Regions from separate parts of the Homo sapiens genome. Here regions 1 and 2 are each linked to region 3. Evidence: promoter capture Hi-C in 16 types of primary human blood cells and fetal thymus (Javierre and others, 2016). All regions are on one chromosome and are shown on one strand. The core of a region is centred on a gene start or on the middle of the fragment in contact, and the rest is flanking DNA. Distances in the headings are between cores, read along the strand shown. Region 1 has its middle 1.6 kb from the start of SLC18B1. Region 2 overlaps SLC18B1 (solute carrier family 18 member B1). Region 3 holds the start of TAAR6 (trace amine associated receptor 6).

Region 1 (2,700 bases), core at 71-2,570, 230 kb before region 3:
GGACCTTGTTTTAAGCTATCAAATTTGTGTTGATTTGTACAGCAGCCCCAGAAAACTAACACAATAATATATTTGATTATAAAACTGATTATCTGAAGGGAGAATGAGAGGTAGAGATTACAAGAGGAGCGGAGGATAGGGATATGAATAGACTTTATGTAAATTAAAAGTAGATGGACACATAAGAACATAGATTTTTTTGAGAACATAAAGAACAAGATTTGCATTAAACATGCAAGAATTATTGCAAATGGGGAGAGGAATGAGAATGGAGATACAAGGAAATAGATGGCAACAGAAATGAAACATTCAATTGGCAAGATACAGTTGGCAAGATTCAGTTGGCAAAAATTCAGATGGCAAGATACAGTTAGGGATACTTCCTATAACATGGAGGAAAAAAAAAGAAAAAATAATAACTAGCCAGGTGTGGTGGCACAGGCCTATAGTCCCACCTACTCGGGAGGCTGAGGTGGGAGGATCAGTTGAGCTCAGGAATTTGAGGTTGCAGTGAGCCATTATATGTCATGGTAGCTTGGGAAACAGAGTGAGACCCTGTCTAAAAAAAATAAAATAAAATAAAAGAGAGAAGAAAAAGAGAAATAAGTAAAAGGACCAGTTTGGGTGACCCAACATTCACATAAAGTGCAGTCCAGAAAGAAAATAAAAGAGGAAATGTAATCATCAAAGAAATCATTCAAGAAAATTTCCCTCTACAGATTGATGTTAGATTGAAGAGAAAGCATAGAGTTAAATGAGATTGGAGAAGCTGTCAGGGGTTAGATCATAAAGATTTCATAAGGCTACTTTAGGGAAACTTTGCTAGATTGGAACTTTCTTTTCTTTTCTTTTTTTTTTTTTTTTTTTTTTTTTGAGATGGAGTTTCACTCTTGTTGCCCAGGCTGGAGCACAATGGTGCTGTCTTGGCTCACCACAACCTCTGCCTCCTAGGTTCAAGCGATTCTCCTGCCTCAGCTTCCCGAGTAGCTGGGACTACAGGCATGCGCCACCATGCCCAGCTAATTTTGTATTTTTAGTAGAGACAGGGTTTCTCCATGTTGGTCAGCCTGGTCTCAAACTCTCGACCTCAGGTGATTTGCCTGCCTCGGCCTCCCAAAGTGCTAGGATTACAGGCGTGAGCCACAGCACCTGGCTTAGAGTGGAACTTTCTGTTCAGAGTGGTTCTCTAGGTTCTCCTTTACAACTTGCCCACTGGGGAATTTTTTTTTTTTTTTTTTTGAGATGGAGTCTCGCTCGGTTGCCCAGGCTGGAGTGCAATGGCATGATCTCTGCTCACTGCAACCTCCGAGTCCCAGGTTCAAGCGATTCTCCTGCCTCAGTCTCCTGAGTAGCTGGGTGCCATCATGCCCAGCTAATTTTTGTATTTTTGTAGAGACGGGGTTTCACCGTGTTGGTCAGGCAGGTCTCGAACTTCTGACCTCGTGACCCGCCCACCTCGGCCTCCCAAAGTGCTGGGATTACAGGCGTGAGCCACCGCGCCCGGCCCTCACTGGGGAGTTTTTACATAACCTTCAAGAACCAAGGTAACATCACTTCCTCAGGAAGTCATCCAGGACCCATTTGCCAAAGTAAATGGTTCTTCCAATATGTTTGTATACAACCGATTGCATTATAGTAGATTATTAATTAGTGTGAATTTCATCTGCTAGAAGGTGTGCTACTTGAGGGCAGAGTCTGGATGGGGCTCATTCCTCTTTAAATTCATAATGCCTGGCACAAAGTGGTAACTCAGTCTTTTGTTTTGCTTTGGCTTCAAAACAAGAATTTCCCAGTCCTTAAACTTTATTTATTTATTTGAGACAGAGTTTCGCTTTTTCACCCAGGCTGGAATGAGGTGGCACAGTAATTACAAACTTACTATCAGCCATACTGTGTACTGGAACTGACCTTGTACAGTGGATCTGAGGCAGATTCTCAGTCGATAAAGCTACCCTCACACAATTCTTTTGGATCTTGGCTCACTGTAACCTCCGCCTCCCAGGTTCAAACGATTCTCCTGCCTCAGCCTCCCTAGTAGCTGGGATTACAGGTGCCTGCCACCACGCCTGGCTGATTTTTTTGTATTTTTATAGTAGAGACAGGGTTTCACCATGTTGGCCGGGCTGGTCTAGAACTCCTGACCTCAGGTGAGCTGCCCACCTCGGCCTCCCAAACTGCTGGGATTACAGGCATGAGCCACCGTGTCCAGCCAGTCCTCGAGCTTTAACACTTCCCAAATAGTAAATACGGTGAAAATAAGTGAAACCTATTTTTTATGCAAGAAAACTGTGAGTGTGAGAGTAAGGTAGCAGCCATCATGTTCATGTGCTAACTACTAACACACTTTATCGCCAATGCTCACAGCCGCCCTACGAGATAAACATTATAATCTCAGTTGTACAGGTAGAGAAACTGACCTTGTCATCCAAAGTTACACACTGCCAGCAAGTGCCCTGGCTTGAATCCCTGGCACCTGCCTCCAGAGGTCGCACTCCTAGCCACTTCGCCATGCTTCCTCGATATTCATTAGTATTCTTGCAAATATTTTTCGACTCCAGGTGCTTCACATAGGTTAATTCATTTCCGGTTCAATAGTGTCTGGCTTCAGTAATTACGAACACTACCGCATTTACCCACTGTGAAAAATAATTCACTCTTTCAAAGTTCCTGTATAACCTAATTTTCTAATTCACTTTTGTG
Region 2 (2,700 bases), core at 39-2,538, 200 kb before region 3:
TCAGCATTGTTCCTCTTTCATGGAGGAGGTCCATGAGAGAGCCTAGAGTGACCAGCATCTGTCACCTGGTCATCATTCTTTTGTTTAATAGGCATGATGATGAAGAACACTAAGTACTATGGCTGTGCTGGGTCAGTTCAATAGTTCTCATGGGAATAAGGAACTATCTCTGTTTTTTAAAAGTTGCCTTTGTTCTCTTTCCATCTTCATCTCATTTTAAGAATTTCTTAATTATATATTTTTATAAGTATTTAATGCAAATGAGCCATGCTTCTTAATATCATATATATATGCAGAAAAATTATTTCTAGAAAACCATGGAGTAAATGTAACTATGAAAATTCTTTTAAATAAGATTTGCTTTTTATCTTAGAAGCAGAGTATTCTTGCTGTTGGTTTTTTTCCAGATTATCCTTGGTTTATCTTAATTGATCTATCATACAATTTTTTCTTTCACACAGGTTTTCCTTTTAATAATGGATACACTCATGTCTCTTTTTGCAGTGAAAATGGGTTTGAAGAGGGATTAAGTACATTGGGACTTGTATCAGGTCTTTTTAGTGCAATGTGGTCAATTGGGTGAGTAGTCATTTAATTTCTTTCTTTTTTTTTTTTTTTGAGATGGAGTTTCACTCTCATCACCCAGGCTGGAGTGCAATGGTGCGATCTTGGCTCACTGCAACCTCCGCCTCCCAGGTCCAAGAGATTCTTCTATCTCAGCCTCCTGAGTAGCTGAGATTACAGGTGCCCACCACCACATCTGGCTAATTTTTGTATTTTTAGTAGAGACAGGGTTTCACCGTGTTGGCCAGGCTGGTCTTGAACTCCTGACCTCAGGTGATCTGCCCGCCTTGGCCTCCCAAAGTGCTGGGATTACAGGCATGAGCCACTGTGCCCAGCCTCATTTAATTTCATTCATACTTGCAAGATGGAAAATATTAATACTATCCCTGCTTGATGTTGATGAAGAAATTGAAACACTGAGGGATCAGATGAGTTTCTCAAAGACAAACAGTTCATCTAGGGGAAAGCCAGAGTTCTAATCCATACCCTTTCACTCAACAATCAATGCCTATACCAACAGTTTAATACTTAGTCAAAATGGTTTCATATACTTTATCTTATTTGAGTGGTATTTATAAGTTCCTTTAATAGAAACATGTCTCTGATTTTTACAATTTATTCATTTATTCATTCATTTGTTTATTTTTTACCTTCTACCAGAAGGGTAACTATGCTAACAATGTAATATATTGTTTTGAATTGAGTTATATTAGTTGCAAATACTGAGAATAGAATAATATAAAGAATTTTTTAAATCTGTTTCATATTTTTTATTTTTATATAAGCCATCAACTTTTCAGAAGCAGTAATAATTTCAAAATTGTTAAAAAATTTTGAATGTCATTATCAGGTAGAATTATTTTCTTTTACTGAATGCTGTGCCCAGGAATTAGCTTTATCTTTAGTACTTATCTTCCAATGTAATGAAGACTTACAATTGAAGGATCATGTAGCTTTTCATGAAGTAATTATTTATTTTTTGCACTATTGAATACTTTTTCTTCTTTCTATTGTTAGTGCTTTTATGGGACCAACGCTGGGTGGATTTCTGTATGAGAAAATTGGTTTTGAATGGGCAGCAGCTATACAAGGTCTATGGGCTCTGATAAGTGTGAGTAATCAGTCTTTTATTTGCATTTTCCTTATATTTGTGGAAAAACTTGACTTGGAAAATTTACATTAATCAGTACTTTTAATTGTGTTTAAGGGATTAGCCATGGGCTTGTTTTATCTACTGGAGTATTCAAGGAGAAAAAGGTATGGTCAATTTTGGGGCTTTTTTTCTCTCTTTAAAAGTTAGCCAGTGCAAGTGGAAAATAAATAACATTTTACATTTATTCTTCCAGTCAGTGGATTTCTAAGCACTCTGAGGCTCATCAGTTGGTAGATACTTTTTTAATTTTTATTTTTTGAGATGGTGTCTTGCTCTGTCACCCAGACTGGCATGCAGTGGCACAATCTCAGCTCACTGCAACTTCTGCCCCCCGGGTTCAAGCGGTTTTCCTGCCTCAGCCTCCCACGTAGCTGAGATTACAGGCATGGGTCACCATGCCCAGTTAATTTTTGTATTTTTAGTAGAGACAGGGTTTCACCATGTTGGCCAGGCTGGTCTCGAACTCCTGACCTCAAGTGATCCGCCTGCCTCTGCCTCCCAAAATGCTGGGATTACAGGCGTGAGCCACCATGCCCGGGCAGTAGAAACTTTTTTAAAAAGATAGTTGGATGGAGATACAGGTACTGGTTTTTTGTTTGTTTGTTTGTTTTTAAGATGAGAAATATTGAGATTCATCTCTTCTTTCCCTCAATGTAGGTCTAAATCTCAAAACATCCTCAGCACAGAGGAGGAACGAACTACTCTCTTGCCTAATGAAACCTAGTCCGATGGATCCTGGATTGATACAAGGTTGAGAAATGAATGCTCCTGGCCTTAAACATCACCGTAGGAAGGGTTTTTAAAATTTTACGCGCAAAACTCCGTGGACCCCGTGCCAGTGTCTTGGAAGTGTCAACGTGTTTTTGGATGATCCTGTATTGGGCTGTACTTACTGTGATACTGAAAAGCTGTCCTGCTGAAGCAGCTATATTTGAAATATTAAGTATGAAAGGAGTAATTAAAAACAAGCAAAACAAAACAAG
Region 3 (2,700 bases), core at 79-2,578:
CAGAGCAGAGGGAAGAGTCAATGGATTAAAAGACAAAAAGTGTCTGCAGGGAGTGGGATATGCTGAGCTCTAAAGCAGTTAACAAATAGGAATTTAACATTTGTTAGCCAAGTAAATACTTTTGCAGAAGGGACAGGAAAGTGCACATCTTAACAAGACTGAAAAACATTGATTTGTTTTTCATTTGAAGAGCAATTTATTTGCTATTCATTCATAGTCTTACTTGATTTTTAAAAACTCATTTCGCTTGGTAATTTTAAAGGTATCCTGAACTTCGTCTATACAACTGCTTATATATGTTCAGAAAACAAATTCATGGTTGCTGAACTGTTCTTTAAAACCTGACCAGTTACAATAACTTTTATTGCTTTCCTAAACCATGGGTAAAATAAAGCATAAATCAAAGGATTCATGGCTGAGTTATAATAAGCACACCAACAGCAAATCTCATAAATACAGGCAGGGGTTATAAAGCCCATAAAGGCATCAATTAATGAATCAATGCTATATGGTAACCATGAAATCATAAATGCTACCACTGTGACCCCCAGGGTTTTAGCTGCTTTTCTCTCTCTCCTGGCCACTCTGGCTTTGTAACTCTCTGAGGATGATTCTGTCTTGCTACCAGTATTTTCTATCTTTTTCGCCTGTCGTCTAGCCACAAGAAATATGTTACCATACAGAATTATCATAATAAAGGTAGGTATAAAGAAGGATAGAAAATCTGTCAACACCCAGTTTTGATTTACAACGGTCTGACAACCTCCTATACAGTTTAGGGCATCAGATAATTCCTCCAGCCCATCGTCATAGACACCTGTGTAGAACACAGCACCGCTGTACATGAGGGGCAGGATCCAGGACACGCTGATGCAAATTCCTGACACAGATACGGTGAACTTGGTAGGATAGACCAGGGGGTCAGTAACCGCAATGTACCTGTCGATGGAGATGAAGCACAAGTGAAAGAGAGAAGAGTAACAAAATGCCACATCACAGCAGGTGTGGAAAGTACAAAAACTCCTCCCAAAATACCAGCAGCTCTCCACCGTCCTGACCATGCTGAAGGGCATCACAGTCACACCCACCAAGAAATCAGCGCAGGCCAGAGAGGCAACGAGAAAATTGGTCGGAGAGTGCAGCTGCTTGAAATGGAGGATTGAAATCATCACCAGGAGGTTTCCAAACACAGCCAGCACAGCCCCAAAGCCAAACACTATGTACAGAATCACCCGGGATCCCGGCGAGAAGGGGATTTTCACACAGGACCCATTCACGTTCGCGTAGCACAGCTGCACAGCCACCAGCAGGGATGAATTGCTGCTCATAACGCTGTTATTTACATATGGAGAAGTTTTGTCCTTGTTGATTATCACAAAAAATACAGGATTGTTCCTGATTTTCAGTGCTCCTGCGGAAAAAAACACATATTCACCAGGATGCCAGAGGAAATGATCAGATATTATCTCTAATATAATTTTTCAAGTTTCCATTTTTATTATAAATCCCAAATGTTTATGACAAAATAAAATTTGACAAAAATTATATTGCACAAGATTATTGGAGATTGTTTCAACTGATAAATGTCTCATGCTCTTAATTTGATAAAATTCCTTTTGATTTTAAATATCCTTTCATATTTTATTTTTACCTTTTGAGTTTCTCTGTGCAACAGTCGCTGATATGGAATGTAATTATGGAGCTGAAAGATCACCTCCTGTTATCTTTATCTCTGTTATCTGTCCTGCATTACCGCCTTAAAGATGAAGTCCTTTTAGCTAAATAAATGCCTTCAATGGGAAAATCCCTCGATGGAATCCCTGTAGTGCGCGGTGTGAACTAGTATGATTATTTTCAACAGTGATTACTAGGAAAGTTATTCTACAAAACAGGTCTCTACTCTATATTAAATTCTATTATCATTATTGTTTTAGGCCAAAGATTTGTTTTTCCTTAGTGCATAGACTTGAACCATTCCCTTGTTCCCAATCATAACTTAGCCACCCGGGTTTTTGTTACAAAGATACAATAGGGTGTAAATAGTAAGCATCAATACTTGGCTCTTTCTCTTCTGTTAAGAATCAATTTTCCATCTGCATTGGTTACCAACAAGCAGAAATTATTATAATACATAGTGAGGGGAACTTGAGATTGATAAAATATATTGCATGAAAGCATTAAAGAACGACATGCTGTTTAGACACACCGGCATTTCTGAGATGCTGGTGGAAAGACCAGTCCTCTTCTCAAGACATTGTTACTGGGAACACATCTGCAATGTGTCTGCATCCACATGACAAATGGGCAGTGAGCCCTCTCTCTCTGACTACGCATTTGTTTGCAATTCCTGGTGACTGGCCTTTGTGCTCCCGATGCTAAAAGCAGTCAAAAAAATAAGAATAATGAACAGGAAACTGGAAAATGGGAAGAGAATCCTCAGTAATGTTCCCAACCCTGGAATGTAAAGACACTGCAGAGTGAAGAAAATATTGTTATTATTATATTATTGTCTTCCTGAAGAAGGGTTCAACTCTCTTTCCAGTACAGGGCTGTGACTTTAGAGACATTTGTGAACTTGCTTTTCAAGTTATAAAGAGTGATAAGTATTATTATTAATCAATCTCGCTATCTGATTCCTACTCAATAAAATTAACACTCTTAACCAAGTAGTTTTCAGATGCTTCTTAATATTTTCTGTAT

The links. The method cuts DNA at HindIII sites, captures the fragments that hold promoters and counts their contacts. A CHiCAGO score of 5 or more calls a contact.
Region 1: a fragment that was not itself captured here is called in contact with the fragment with the promoter of TAAR6 in region 3 in 1 of 17 cell types (monocytes); the score reaches 6.4 in monocytes.
Region 2: a contact is called between a fragment that was not itself captured here and the fragment with the promoter of TAAR6 in region 3, in 1 of 17 cell types (M1 macrophages). The highest score is 7.2, in M1 macrophages.

The regions. Positions count from the first base shown.
Region 1 is chr6:132,798,919-132,801,618 of GRCh38, reverse strand. No RefSeq gene overlaps it. Among named protein-coding and RNA genes, the nearest start is that of SLC18B1, 1.6 kb to the right of the region's middle. The HindIII fragment of the contact is 2,853 bases long and covers 1-2,700 here.
Region 2 is chr6:132,770,011-132,772,710 of GRCh38, reverse strand. It overlaps SLC18B1 (solute carrier family 18 member B1), which reads left to right. Exons shown (of 14, transcript NM_052831.3): 11 at 505-579; 12 at 1,582-1,675; 13 at 1,772-1,821; 14 at 2,375-2,700. The coding sequence ends at 2,441. Among named protein-coding and RNA genes, the nearest start is that of VNN2, 13 kb to the right of the region's middle. The HindIII fragment of the contact is 3,459 bases long and covers 1-2,700 here.
Region 3 is chr6:132,568,950-132,571,649 of GRCh38, reverse strand. TAAR6 (trace amine associated receptor 6) reads right to left here and starts at 1,328. Exons shown (of 1, transcript NM_175067.1): 1 at 291-1,328. The coding sequence starts at 1,328. The coding sequence ends at 291. The HindIII fragment of the contact is 3,206 bases long and covers 1-2,700 here.